2 separate regions of the Homo sapiens genome follow, and region 2 is linked to region 1. Evidence: promoter capture Hi-C in 16 types of primary human blood cells and fetal thymus (Javierre and others, 2016). All regions are on one chromosome and are shown on one strand. Each heading gives the region's core, a stretch centred on a gene start or on the middle of the fragment in contact. The rest is flanking DNA. Distances are from core to core; before and after follow the strand shown.

Region 1 (5,825 bases), core at 2,028-4,527:
GAGAATCAATTATGCTCAGGCTTACTATCTTTGCATTGGGGTGGCAGGTAAACTCCACACATGGTAGGTGGAAGGACACTGTCTCCAGGACTCCTGGAGAAATGAGACTAACTGAACTCTAGGCTCAAGAACATGGTCAAAAAGTTAAGGTAAGGGGATACGCAGAGAAAATAAGAGAAGAGTAAACGTGATCAGCATCTCTCTAACACTAGCAAGGGAGAGAGGCTGTGGGCTGGGAGACTATAAGCCCAAATACTTGCAAGCTGTCCCCTGCCATTGGTGGTGGGATAACCTCCACCCAGGTTACCTGACTTTCCTTGGTTTGAGCCCATGTTTACCCAGCAACTTCTGTGAGGCTCCTCTAAAGGAGGAGTTCTTGGAAGGATACCAAGCATTCCTATAGCTGGGAAGGGATGTCCTCTATTATATGCTAGAAAATTGGTGTCCTGGTTTATTTTTCAGATAGCAAGTCTGTCAAAGAGAAGACACCTCTGGCTATGCTAAGCACATCCAACAATGAATGAGGATGTGAGGTAGACCAGACCCTGGAATGGTTGTGACTCTCTAAGGTATTGTCTGAGGGAAGCCCTGCCAAGTACCCCAGATCATACTTCCATGAGCGCACCTCTTAAATAGGCTTATTATCCTATTTGTAAATAAGCTTACTGCGAGCTCAGGCAATTCACCTGAATTATATGGCTCTCAGTTTCATCATCATTTTTAAAAGGTAGATAAGCACATCTTTCCGGCCAGGTGCCATGGCTCATGCCTGTAATCCCAGCACTTTGGGAGCTTGAGGCGGGAGGATCACCTGAGGTCAGGAGATCGATACCAGCCTGGCCAATATGGTGAAACTCCATCTCTACTAAAAATACAAAAAAAAAAAAAAAGCCAATTAGTGGACGTGGTGGCAGGTGCCCGTAATCCCAGCTACTCGGGAGGCTGAGGCAGGAGAATCGCTTGAACCTGGGAGGCAGAGGTTGCAGTGAGCTGAGATCATGCCATTGCACTCCAACCTGGGCAACAAGAATGAAACTCCATCTCAAAAAAAAAAAAAAAAGAATATCTTTCCTCTTTCTTAGCTACTTGGCGGGTAGACAGGCATCTGACTGGCTCACAGTTTTCCTTTCTACCTCATGTCCCCACATTGTCTTTGTGAATTTCCAACAACCCTCATTTCAGTTCCCTGACTTCTTCCCCTCAAACAGCCTTCTCCTCAATGCCAACAGATACAGTTACAACACCTGTAACTGCTCCACTTCTGAAATTTTACACTCCAGTATCCTACTCTCTGATCACAATCTCTCCTTCCCATCCAGGGTGCTGCCTCCTTTATTCTTCCTTTATTCTGCTCTGACCTCACCGAGATCACCAGGCATCACCTCCTCCCCTTCTGTCTCACCTATCACCAGGAGGCTGGCTGCATTCCTTCTCTATCCATCTAGGCTCAGCCTCTTTCTGGCCAGACCTTCACACGCCTTGCCCTCCGGCCCCACCTCCACCTTTCTGGCATACCTCCCCTGCTAACTTACTCCTCTTTCAACTACCGTTCACCTTCAGCACTCACATTCCAGGATGGTAAAGATTGCTGCAGGAAAAAAAAAAAATCACAAATATGACCAGCAGTCTCCCTTGTCACAGCAGCTGGGTCTTCAGTCACAGCGCATCTGCGTGCCTGCTCAGGGGCCACTCCCTTAGTCCCCTTTCCTCTGCCTTAGAAGAAAACCTGGCCTCCTATTTCACAAAGAAAAGTGTCACCATACAAGTTTAGCCCATATCTAGAAACTTATCTTTACACACACCCTTACCTTCTTTCTTCCTGTCTCAGAAGCTGTGCCACCAATCCCCCACCCCCCCGTAGCCCTGTCTCCTCTACCAGCAATTGGCTTCCATTTGTTTCTTCCCTGGAACCTAAAAATATAATTTGTTACTTCCTCTCAACCCTAAAACATGGCTTTTCATTTCCTAAGTTAAAAAAACACGTTATTTCCTCTTTAAAACTAGGTTTCTTTAAAAAGAAAAAACGTCTGCCTACCCTATGACAGTCCAGATTCTGCTTTTACTAACACATAAGCCACCAGACCTCTGCATTCCACAGCCCTCTCTCCCTTTACCCTGTTTATTATCTTCACTCCACTTAGTACATGAAGCGATGCTATGTATCCGTTAAGTTGCTGTTTACCTTCCCCTCCAGAACCACCCTATTCCCTGTAGCAGTGCCAGGCACACAGCAAAGGAGAAACTGAGGCACAGGGACTATCCTGGTTGTGTTCCTTCTTACAGATCTTCTGCAAATAATGCTGCACTCGTAGCTAAACACAGCTCTACAACAGACGCCTTTTAGCCAACTGACTAAACGCTGGACATGTTGACTGAGCCCCCAGTTTTTGGAAATCCCTACTTCCTTGCTCGGAAACCTTGCTGTCTCTTATTTCCTCTTCTCTAGGCCTTGCTCGGAAACCTTGCTGTCTCTTATTTCCTCTTCTCTCGGCCACCGGCCATCGGTGTGGCTGGTCCCCGGGTCCCAGGCTCTGAGCTCTGCTCTTCATAGAAGAGGCTTTTTCGCCCCAATGCACTTGAATGACCTCTTTCAGCCCTGGGCGCTGAGCTTCAGGCCATGAGGACAAATACCTCCCGGATGACTCCCCGGAGTCCCCAGGTCCGCAGCCGAACTCATCATTTCCCCAAACCTGTTCCCCCTCCTCTCTACCTCGGCGGGTGGCAGCGCCGTCCACCCTGTCACGACGACAGAAACCCGAGCATCCTGGCTCTCCTCCCTCTCGCTCTCATCCTACCAATCCATCACCAATTCGCCGCCCTGCGGTGGCCTCCCCAGCCCTGGGTCCACCCTCCCGGCCCGCGCGTCGCCGGCATCCCTTGCGCCCTCCGAGGAACTGACCACGGCCGCCTTCTGGAGTGGGCGCACCCCCAGGGACCGGGACCGACCACGACCGCGGGGCCCCCCAGGCGCGGCTTCCTCCCGTCAGGCCCGGGCCCCCGGCTTGCCCCGCGCCCTCCCTCACCGCGGACCCCACCGCCCCCGCGCCCCGCCGAGGCCTCGCCGCCGCCACCGAGTCCCCCGCTGGCGCCCGGTCCGGGCCGCCGGCCTCCTCTTCTCACGCCCCGCGGGCGGAAGGACCGGAGCGTGGGTACCCGGGGCCCGCACCTTGATCCTCTCCACGCCAGCCTCCAACTTGAGCTGCTCTACCAAGCGCTGCAGGGCGCTCGCGCTAGCCCCGGAGGACATGGCGGCGGCGCTGGGCTCCTAGGGGCTGCTGGGCCCGGCCGGGCGGGGAGGAGCCGCCAGCCCCGAGCGCGGGTGCCGCCCCGGGGCGGGGAAGCAGCTGCGCCCGCCCCGCCGCCCCAGCCCACCCGGCGCGGAGCCGCTTGCCAGAGACAGCGGGGACCCCAGCGAGCTGGCAGTGCTCTCCGCTCCTCAGCGCCTGAAACCTGGGTGGCACCTGCAGCTGGGCCTGGAACCGAGGCGGGGACCCGCAGAGCGCGGCGTCCTCCAGCGAAGCTGGCGCCCCTAGGATGAGCAGGAATCGCGAGGGCGTGGGACGCGAGGATGGAGTGGGCGGCAGCAAACACGCACCCCTGAGAAATGAGAACTGGAGCCAAGGTGTGACATGAGTTGGAGAGATAAGGGGCCTTGCCAGACAGTATCACCGGGGAACCAAGGAGAGTTCATAGGATTTTCATGAGGCAGCAACAGGTTTCTAAATGACCCTGTTACTGTTTCACGGAGATCCTACCAGTTGATTTGGTGGAGTATGGTAAATTGGATAAAATCCCAGACCCTGACATCTTTGTGAAACATACAGAATAAAATTAAATTCAGCGTTTCTCACTCTCATCTCACCATTTAACTGTCATCATTGTTTCTATTCTGCTGCTTTTTTTTTTTTTTTTTTTTTTTTTGAGACAGGGTCTTGCTCTGTCACCCGGGGTGGAGTGCAGTGGCGTGATCACAGCTCCTTGTAGCCTCCACCTCGTGGGCTCAGGTGATCCTCCTGCCTCAGCCTCCTGAGTAGCTGGGACTACAGACACACACCACCACGCCCGGCTAATTTTTGTATTTTTAGTAGAGACGGGGTTTCACGATGTTGGCCAGGCTGGTGTTGAACTCCTGGGCTCAGGTGATCCTCCCACCTCAGCCTCCCAAAGTGCTGGCATTATAGGCCTACTGCATTTTTTAATAAGTGTTTTACAAAACTGGGATCGTTACTATATTTAAAATTTTTGTGTTGCTTTTTTCCATGTATCATTAATACGTCATTATTCTTGTACACCATTGTATTTGTCAGAACTCACTTAAACTGAATATTGCAAAAGGTAATATATTGGCTTGTGTAACTGAAAAGTCCAGGGACTTTAAACTAGTGAATTCAATTACCCAAATAATAATTTTGGGGCTCTCATCCTCCTTGTTTTGATTCTGCTTTTCCTGAGATTAGCCTCATTTTCCTTGGTGGTAGATGGACTTCTCTAGTGGTATGAAGGAAGGCACCACACTTTCACTGTCCCCATCTAGCAAACCCAGGAAAAATAGTACCTCTTTTCTTTCTAATCGTTCCAGCAAAAATCCCCATAATGAACCTCACTGGCTGGTATTAAGTCATGGGCCCACCCCTGGCCCAATTACTCTTTGAAGGCAAGGATGTGTGGCATTGACGTGCTCAGATTAGCTGTGCCTGGGCCAAAGGGAGACTTGCACATTTGAAAGCCCTCTCTAGTGGCCAATTTCCTCACCACAAAGAAATTAATATATATCTTAGTAAAGAGATGAAAGTACATGTTGGGAACATTCAACAATCAATTCTGAGACTGATGAATAGGACAAAATAGAATGATTTCATATTTAAAAGATATGGCAAAGAACTCAGTGCAAAGATATACATACTGGATTAGGAAAGGCTCATCATAGATCGTGAGAGCTGGACTTTGGAGATACGTGTCTTGCAGATGGCTCAGAAGGAAGAACAGTCCAGTATGGAGGACAGCTGGAGGCGATGCACACATGTAGAGTGAATAAATTTAAAAATAGAGGAAGCTCTAGTGACTAATAGCAGATACAAAGTTGCTAGGGCCAGAAGTCATAGAAAACCTCACATACACACAAAAGTTTATGGTAAACAGTGGGATAGCCACAGGGTAAGGCATTTTGGGAATATTAATCTGAGATGAATGTGCAAAATGAACTGAAGTTGAGAAGATAAATGGCTGATGGTGGGGGAGTAGCTGGAATGAGGCCCTGGGTAGGACTGTTAGAGTAGGAATGAGGGGGAACAAATTTAGAAGACAAAATCAGTGGTACTTCATGGTGGTTATGAAATGCAAAGAAAAGAGGACAAAGGGTTCTGTAGCAGAGAGTGGGCCAGAACTAATGCCAAAACAGAAATTAGGAAACAAGACTTGGCTTGAGATGAGTAAAAAATAATGTGGGGTTTGGTTTAGGAGTAACGAAGTGACTTCCATGGCATTGCTACATGCCTTTAGGCTGCTGAAAATGTTTAGTAGCCAAGATGTTAATGTGAAGATGTCTCCACAGCAATGGCAGCTGAAATAATGAGATTACCTCAAAATCATTAGAAATGAAGGCTTTGGAGTTGCCCTCAATGAAGGGACACACGTCAGCCATGTCATACTGTATCAGCCACGAGGTAGCAGGAAAAGTCTAGGGGTGTGCTGTGTCTGCCTCCTTCATGCCCTACACACCCACTGCCCCGCCCACCTCAGTGTTACTTTGCACCGTTCAAGAGGAATGGTCTGTGATCCATGGATAAGCAGGCCGGGCGCCACTTGTACTTGAGGAAGGCTGACCA
Region 2 (5,825 bases), core at 2,011-4,510, 840 kb before region 1:
TTTTTAAAATTTTTTACCATATGTTATCTTTCGAGGCATTTTAATCACAAGTCAGCTATTTGTTGAAATGTTTTAGTATCTTCTTTATCAAATAATTTTCTTTCTGAAATGACTATAAATGCAGGCTATGTTTGCTCATTTTGCAAAAGTACTATATTAGTGAATGGCCTATAAAAGTGAAAAAATTTTAAATTGAACCACATAGTTTAACTAGTGGTCAGCAGGGCCAAATAATCTTATAAAAATCTTATTAGAAAAAAAAATTACACAATCAGCTTTATGGTACAAACCAGGCAACAGAAAACCGATTTCAAAAATAATCCTCAGATGTTTAATAATGCATATTTTTACAACATGACTTTCAGCTGTTGTTTCACCTCCTAGCTAGGCTGAATCTGATTTTAACCATCCTTCTGGCATTGTACATATGCAGGGAGCAAATGCAATCTATTGAAGCAAAGCAGTGTGTGCAAAAGGGCTCAATTAAATGGTGGAATGTTTCTTGTAAATTAAAGCCCTATTGAATAATCATCTTCCATGCAAATTATCTTTCTTAGGGTGTTCCAACAATGTGCCATCATCGTATGTAGCTGCTTTAATATATGCTTATTTGTAATGCTTGACATAATGAATTCTCCCTCTTTATTCCCTTAGAAATAGAATGAGAATTTAAGCTTTTTAATTTTTCCTTTCTAGACTGCCTTTGTGAATACACCAGTAAGACACTATTTTTTCATAACCTACGGTGCAGAAGAATGATTTAACTAGATGCATACTAGTAGTGTATTTATCTGAAAAAGCAAGTTAAATGGATTTCTGATGGAAAAATAGCATGTTAATCTCTCCTCTCTCAAAAAAGTAAATTTTCCCTGGAAGCTCCGAAGCTCAGTCTCCTAATCCTTTTCAAGCCTTTAAGGTTTCTATTCTTAAAAGAAAGTCATATGCTAAAATGTAAATACACAAAACAGAGATTGTTTGCATAGTCCACCAAGAGTCCACATATTTCCTAAAATGTATACAAAATTATAGGTTGTATATATAGATATGTATTTAATAAGAAAGGAGTCCAAAGATTTTATCCAATTCTCAAAGGGGTCAAAAACCCACAAAAATATTTAGAATTACCACATAAGGCTAAAAGATAGAATCTCACTTATAATCTCAGCACTTCGGGAGGCTGAGGCAGGAGGACTGCTTGAGCCCAGGAAGTCAAGACCAGCCTAGGAAATATAGTGAAACCTCATCTCTCAAAAAAAAGAAAGAAAGAGAAAGAAAAAGAAAGAAAGAAAGAAAGAGAGAGAGAGAAAGAAAAACAGATACAGCATTTTAGGGTTATACTTTGATCTTATAGGTATAGATGTTTGATTGATGTCACACAAAACAAAAATTCCCATTCGAAAGAATCAAACTGGCCAGGCACAGTGAGTCGCTCAGGGCCTGTAATCCCAGCACTTTGGGAGTCCAAGTCAAGAGGATCACTTGAGGCCAGGAATTCAAAACCAGCCTGAGCAATATTGTGAGGCCCTATCTCTATAAAAAAATAAAAAATTAACCAGATATAGTGGCACATGCCTATAATGGTAGCTACTCAGGAGACTAAGGCAAAAGAATAACTTGAGCCCAGGAGTTCAAGGTTACAGTGAGCAGTGATCACACCACTGCACTCCACCCTGGATTAGACTGAAAACTTGTCTCTTAAAAAGAAACAAAAACAAAAAACAAAACCTAAAATACTCAGTCAGTTCCACACATCTTTTCTAAACATTCTTATATGCATATGATATATCAACCTAAGCCCTGAAAAGAGTGACTAGCAAAGGATACAGGGGCTATTTGAGAGTCATATGCCACCCCTTGGACCAGAGCTTAGTGCATCAGCAGGGAGTTGGGAAAGAAAGGCAAATTCAGTGTCACAATTTCATGCTTTATCAGGGTCTCTGTAAATGTATGGCCTCCTTCCCTCTACCCACAAATACTTCTAAAAGTCCTTAGCTTAACTATTAACTAAATCATAAATATTGAAGCACTTAAAAAATTTTTCTCAGAGGTCTAATGTAATGGCCTAGAAATATTCCAAGTGACCTTCAAGTTGAATTAAATACCACAATTGCTACAATAGCAATGACCACTGAGTATGTAAGTACCTGGGTCCTGTTATGAACTCACTACCAAAACTACCACACTTCTAGTTAAGCACAATCTCAGGTTCTATTCAGAATTAATGTGCCCACAGAAACCCTAAATCACAACCCATGATCCGGCAAAAAAAGGCAAAAACTTTCTAATAAAGCTAGTGTGGCAGAAACACTGCAGACTCTATCTGCATTTATCCAGCTGTGTTTACAAGAAAAAAAAAAAAGCAGTAGCTTGAGCAAGCAAAAACTTCTGAAATTTTAATACTAAAGAAAATAATATCAGCACTGCAAAAAGAGGCCATATTTTTCCCAGTAAAAAAAGTAACGGAACCTTGTGCAACCCCCAAGTACCCAGGTAGTCACAAACATGTATAAACACGTAACACATCAGGACACACTACACATATAAAATTATCCTTAATTACCATGAAGAAAAAACATTCTAACATTTGTTTTTTGTTTTGTTTTGTTTTGAAACAGAGTCTCGCTCTGTCACCCAGGCTAGAGTGTAGTGGCGTGATCTCGGCTCACTGCAAGCTCTGCCTCCCAGGTTCATGCCATTCTCCTGTCTCAGCCTCCCGAGAAGCTGGGACTACAGGCGCCCGCCAACACGCCCAGCTAATTTTTTGTATTTTTAGTAGAGACGGGGTTTCACCGTGTTAGCCAGAATGGTCTCGATCTCCTGACCTTGTGATCCGCCTGCTTCGGCCTCCCAAAGTGCTGGGATTACAGGTGTGAGCCACCGCGCCTGGCCTCTAACATTTGTTTTTACAAATTGCCACAGTACTCTATAAATTTCATTTTTCTCCATACTTCAGATTTTACCAAAAGCTTTACCCTATAGTTCAAAAATTACTTTATAGAAACACAATTTGTTCATTCTTAATTATATCCATTATATGAGTTCAGCGGTCTTCTGTCTCTTTGATACTAAGGGACACTCAAATGCTAGAATTTGGTGACACATTTCAAAGGAAAGGGATACATACGCATCGTTCTCTGTTTGATCCCCCCTCACTGCTGTTTGTCAGCTTAAGTCGAACTTTTTATTGCCCTGACCTATACACTCACAAAGCAAAGTTCCTGTCTGCTCCAGTAAACAAGCAATCTTTCCTACAGCTGCCTGGATCCCGTGCTTTGCCTTTCATCAGGCATCCTGTCCCACCTTTCATCACCTGACCACTCAGGCCATTTACCTAAATCACAGTATTTCTCTGAATGAAATGAAAGTAAACATCCTTTTCAACAAAATTTGATAACCATCTGTGAGGTGCTACAACAACATACAATTTGAAACCACTATGCTAATTAAAGTTATTAGTTTTAAAATGTTCTTAATAAATTACTACATTGCCTGCAAAGTCAAAATAGAGACATATAGACTTCACACCATACAATTCAAGGATTTGTTAAGCTTAATTTTCTTTGCTATCTAGCGTTCAAATATACTCTCTTCTAGATATTTAAGCCTCAGTAATAATATAACCTATGTGCCTGGCACTCTACTCACACGAATTTACCTAATCCTCACGACAACCCCATGGGCTATATACTTAGTATTATACTCATTTTATAAACGCGGAAACTAAAGCACTGAGAAGTTATGTACTAATAAGGGCCAGAAACAGGATTCAAAGCCAGGCAGTCTGAGTCCAAAGTCTAGTCTTAACCAGGGTGCTAGCCTAAAGAACTCATTATTGGAAGAATAAAATCAGGTCATTTTCAGTAACATGGATGAAACTGGAAGTCATTATCTTAAGTGAAATAAAGCCAGGCACAAAAAAACAAGTATCACATATTCTTATACATGGAAGCTAAAAAACTTGACCACATGGAGGTAGAGAATGGAAAGACAGATAACAGAGACTGGGAAAGTTGAGTGAGGGGACCAAGGGGAGGATGAAGATAACCGATTTAAAGGGTACACATAGAGTAAGATAGAAGGAATAAATTCAACGTTAGATGGCAGAGTAGGGTGACTATCTTCAACAAAAATGTATTGTACTCCAGCAATAGACATGCTAAATACCCTGACTTGATCACTACGCATTATACACATGTTAACAAAATTTTACATGTACCTCATAAATTTGTATAAATAAAAAATGTATATACATCTACACATATATACATATAGACACACATACATACATAAAAAACTTCATTATTGGCATCATATTTGCTATAGTGGTTTTGGCACTGAGAAAATTTGGACAAAACAGACTCAGATTTCATCATTTTCAAAGATTTTCTTGTCATAATCTTATCTTTATGATAAGATTAGGTAAATTATGAATCACAAAAATCACTCCAGTGCTGGATAACCTCAGATTAAATGGGGATGAAACATACAATGAAAGGAACTAGAAGCCAGAGTTCCTTCACTCCTCCAGATCATTTCCCCATCTGTAAAATAAGGGGATTAAAAATAGTTAATCTTGGCAGGGCATGGTGGCTCACGCCTGCAATTCCAGCACTTCGGGAGGCCGAGGCCGGTGGATCACTTGAGGTCAGGAATTCGAGACCCGCCTGGCCAACATGGCGAAATCCCGTCTCTACTCAAAATACAAAAATTAGCTGGGGGTAGTGTGGCACGCACCTGTAATTCCAGCTACTCGGGAGGCTGAGGCATGAGAATTGCTTAAGCCCAGGAGGTGGAGGTTGCCGTGAGCCGAGATCGCACCACTGCACTCCAGCCTGGGTGATTGAGTGAGACTCTGTCTCCAAAAAAAAAAAAAAAGATAATCTCTACAGTTCCTTCTGGTTCAAACCCTGAAAGATTAATACATAATTAAAAAACCAACAACTCCTTAGATGATTTAAGACACTGTTGCCCACCATCAATAAAGCCAGGTTACAATCAACTTGAGAAAGATCTAAAGTACTTGATTTCTAAGGTATTAAAAGACAGAAATATGCAAAATACTTCGTTTTTAATTATGCTTATTATAAAATATAGCCAAATTATAGAAAGCATGGCAAATATATATATATATATATATAATTTATAACCCCAGCACATTAACACTGTTAGCATTTTAGGGTATTTCCTTCCAATCTTTTCCTTATGCATAGCTTTGCATGACAGTCATGATCAGGGAAGGAGGGAAAATGGAAGGGAGAAAAATCATTCTATTTCCTACTTGAACAATTTTTAATAGGGATTTTTCATTTTGCCAGAAGGTTCTACATGATCTACCCTACCCACTACCACCAGCATTATCTGTCCAAACTCTTGCAACTCTTTTTCCTTGCAGCTCTCCCCTCCTTCACTCTAGCGGAGCCCTTGACCTTTTTTTTTTTTTTTTTTTTGAGACAGGGTCTCGCTCTGTTGCCCAGGCTGGAGTACAGTGGTATGAACACAGCTCATTGCAGCCTCAGCCTCCCTAGTAGCTGGGACTACAGGTATGCACGACCACACTTGGCTAATTTTTTTTATTTTTTGTAGAGAAGGAGTATTGTTTCCCAGCTGGTCTCAAACTTATGGGCTTAAGCAGTCCTCCCACCCCGGCCTGCCAAAGTGCTGGGATTAAAGGAGTGAGCCACCGCGACCAGCCAGCTCTTGAAATTCTTGTTCCTAGAACATATCAGGGCACATTTCCAACTGACCCTTTGTGCTTGCCGTTCCCTTTGCCTCAAATGCTCTTCCTCCAGATACCTGAATGTCAAGCCCTCTCATTCATTTTAAGT

The links. The method cuts DNA at HindIII sites, captures the fragments that hold promoters and counts their contacts. A CHiCAGO score of 5 or more calls a contact.
Region 2: a fragment that was not itself captured here is called in contact with the fragment with the promoter of GNG10 in region 1 in 1 of 17 cell types (total B cells); the score reaches 5.3 in total B cells.

What each region holds. Positions count from the first base shown.
Region 1 is chr9:111,659,057-111,664,881 of GRCh38, reverse strand. GNG10 (G protein subunit gamma 10) reads right to left here and starts at 3,277. Exons shown (of 3, transcript NM_001017998.4): 1 at 3,167-3,277. The coding sequence starts at 3,247. The region is part of intron 1 of DNAJC25-GNG10 (DNAJC25-GNG10 readthrough); the gene reads right to left. RefSeq lists enhancers at 2,217-2,266, 2,467-2,566, 3,637-3,696 and silencers at 2,857-2,976, 3,007-3,456. The HindIII fragment of the contact is 12,879 bases long and covers 664-5,825 here.
Region 2 is chr9:112,503,239-112,509,063 of GRCh38, reverse strand. The region is part of intron 1 of KIAA1958; the gene reads right to left. Among named protein-coding and RNA genes, the nearest start is that of HSDL2-AS1, 19 kb to the right of the region's middle. The HindIII fragment of the contact is 583 bases long and covers 2,969-3,551 here.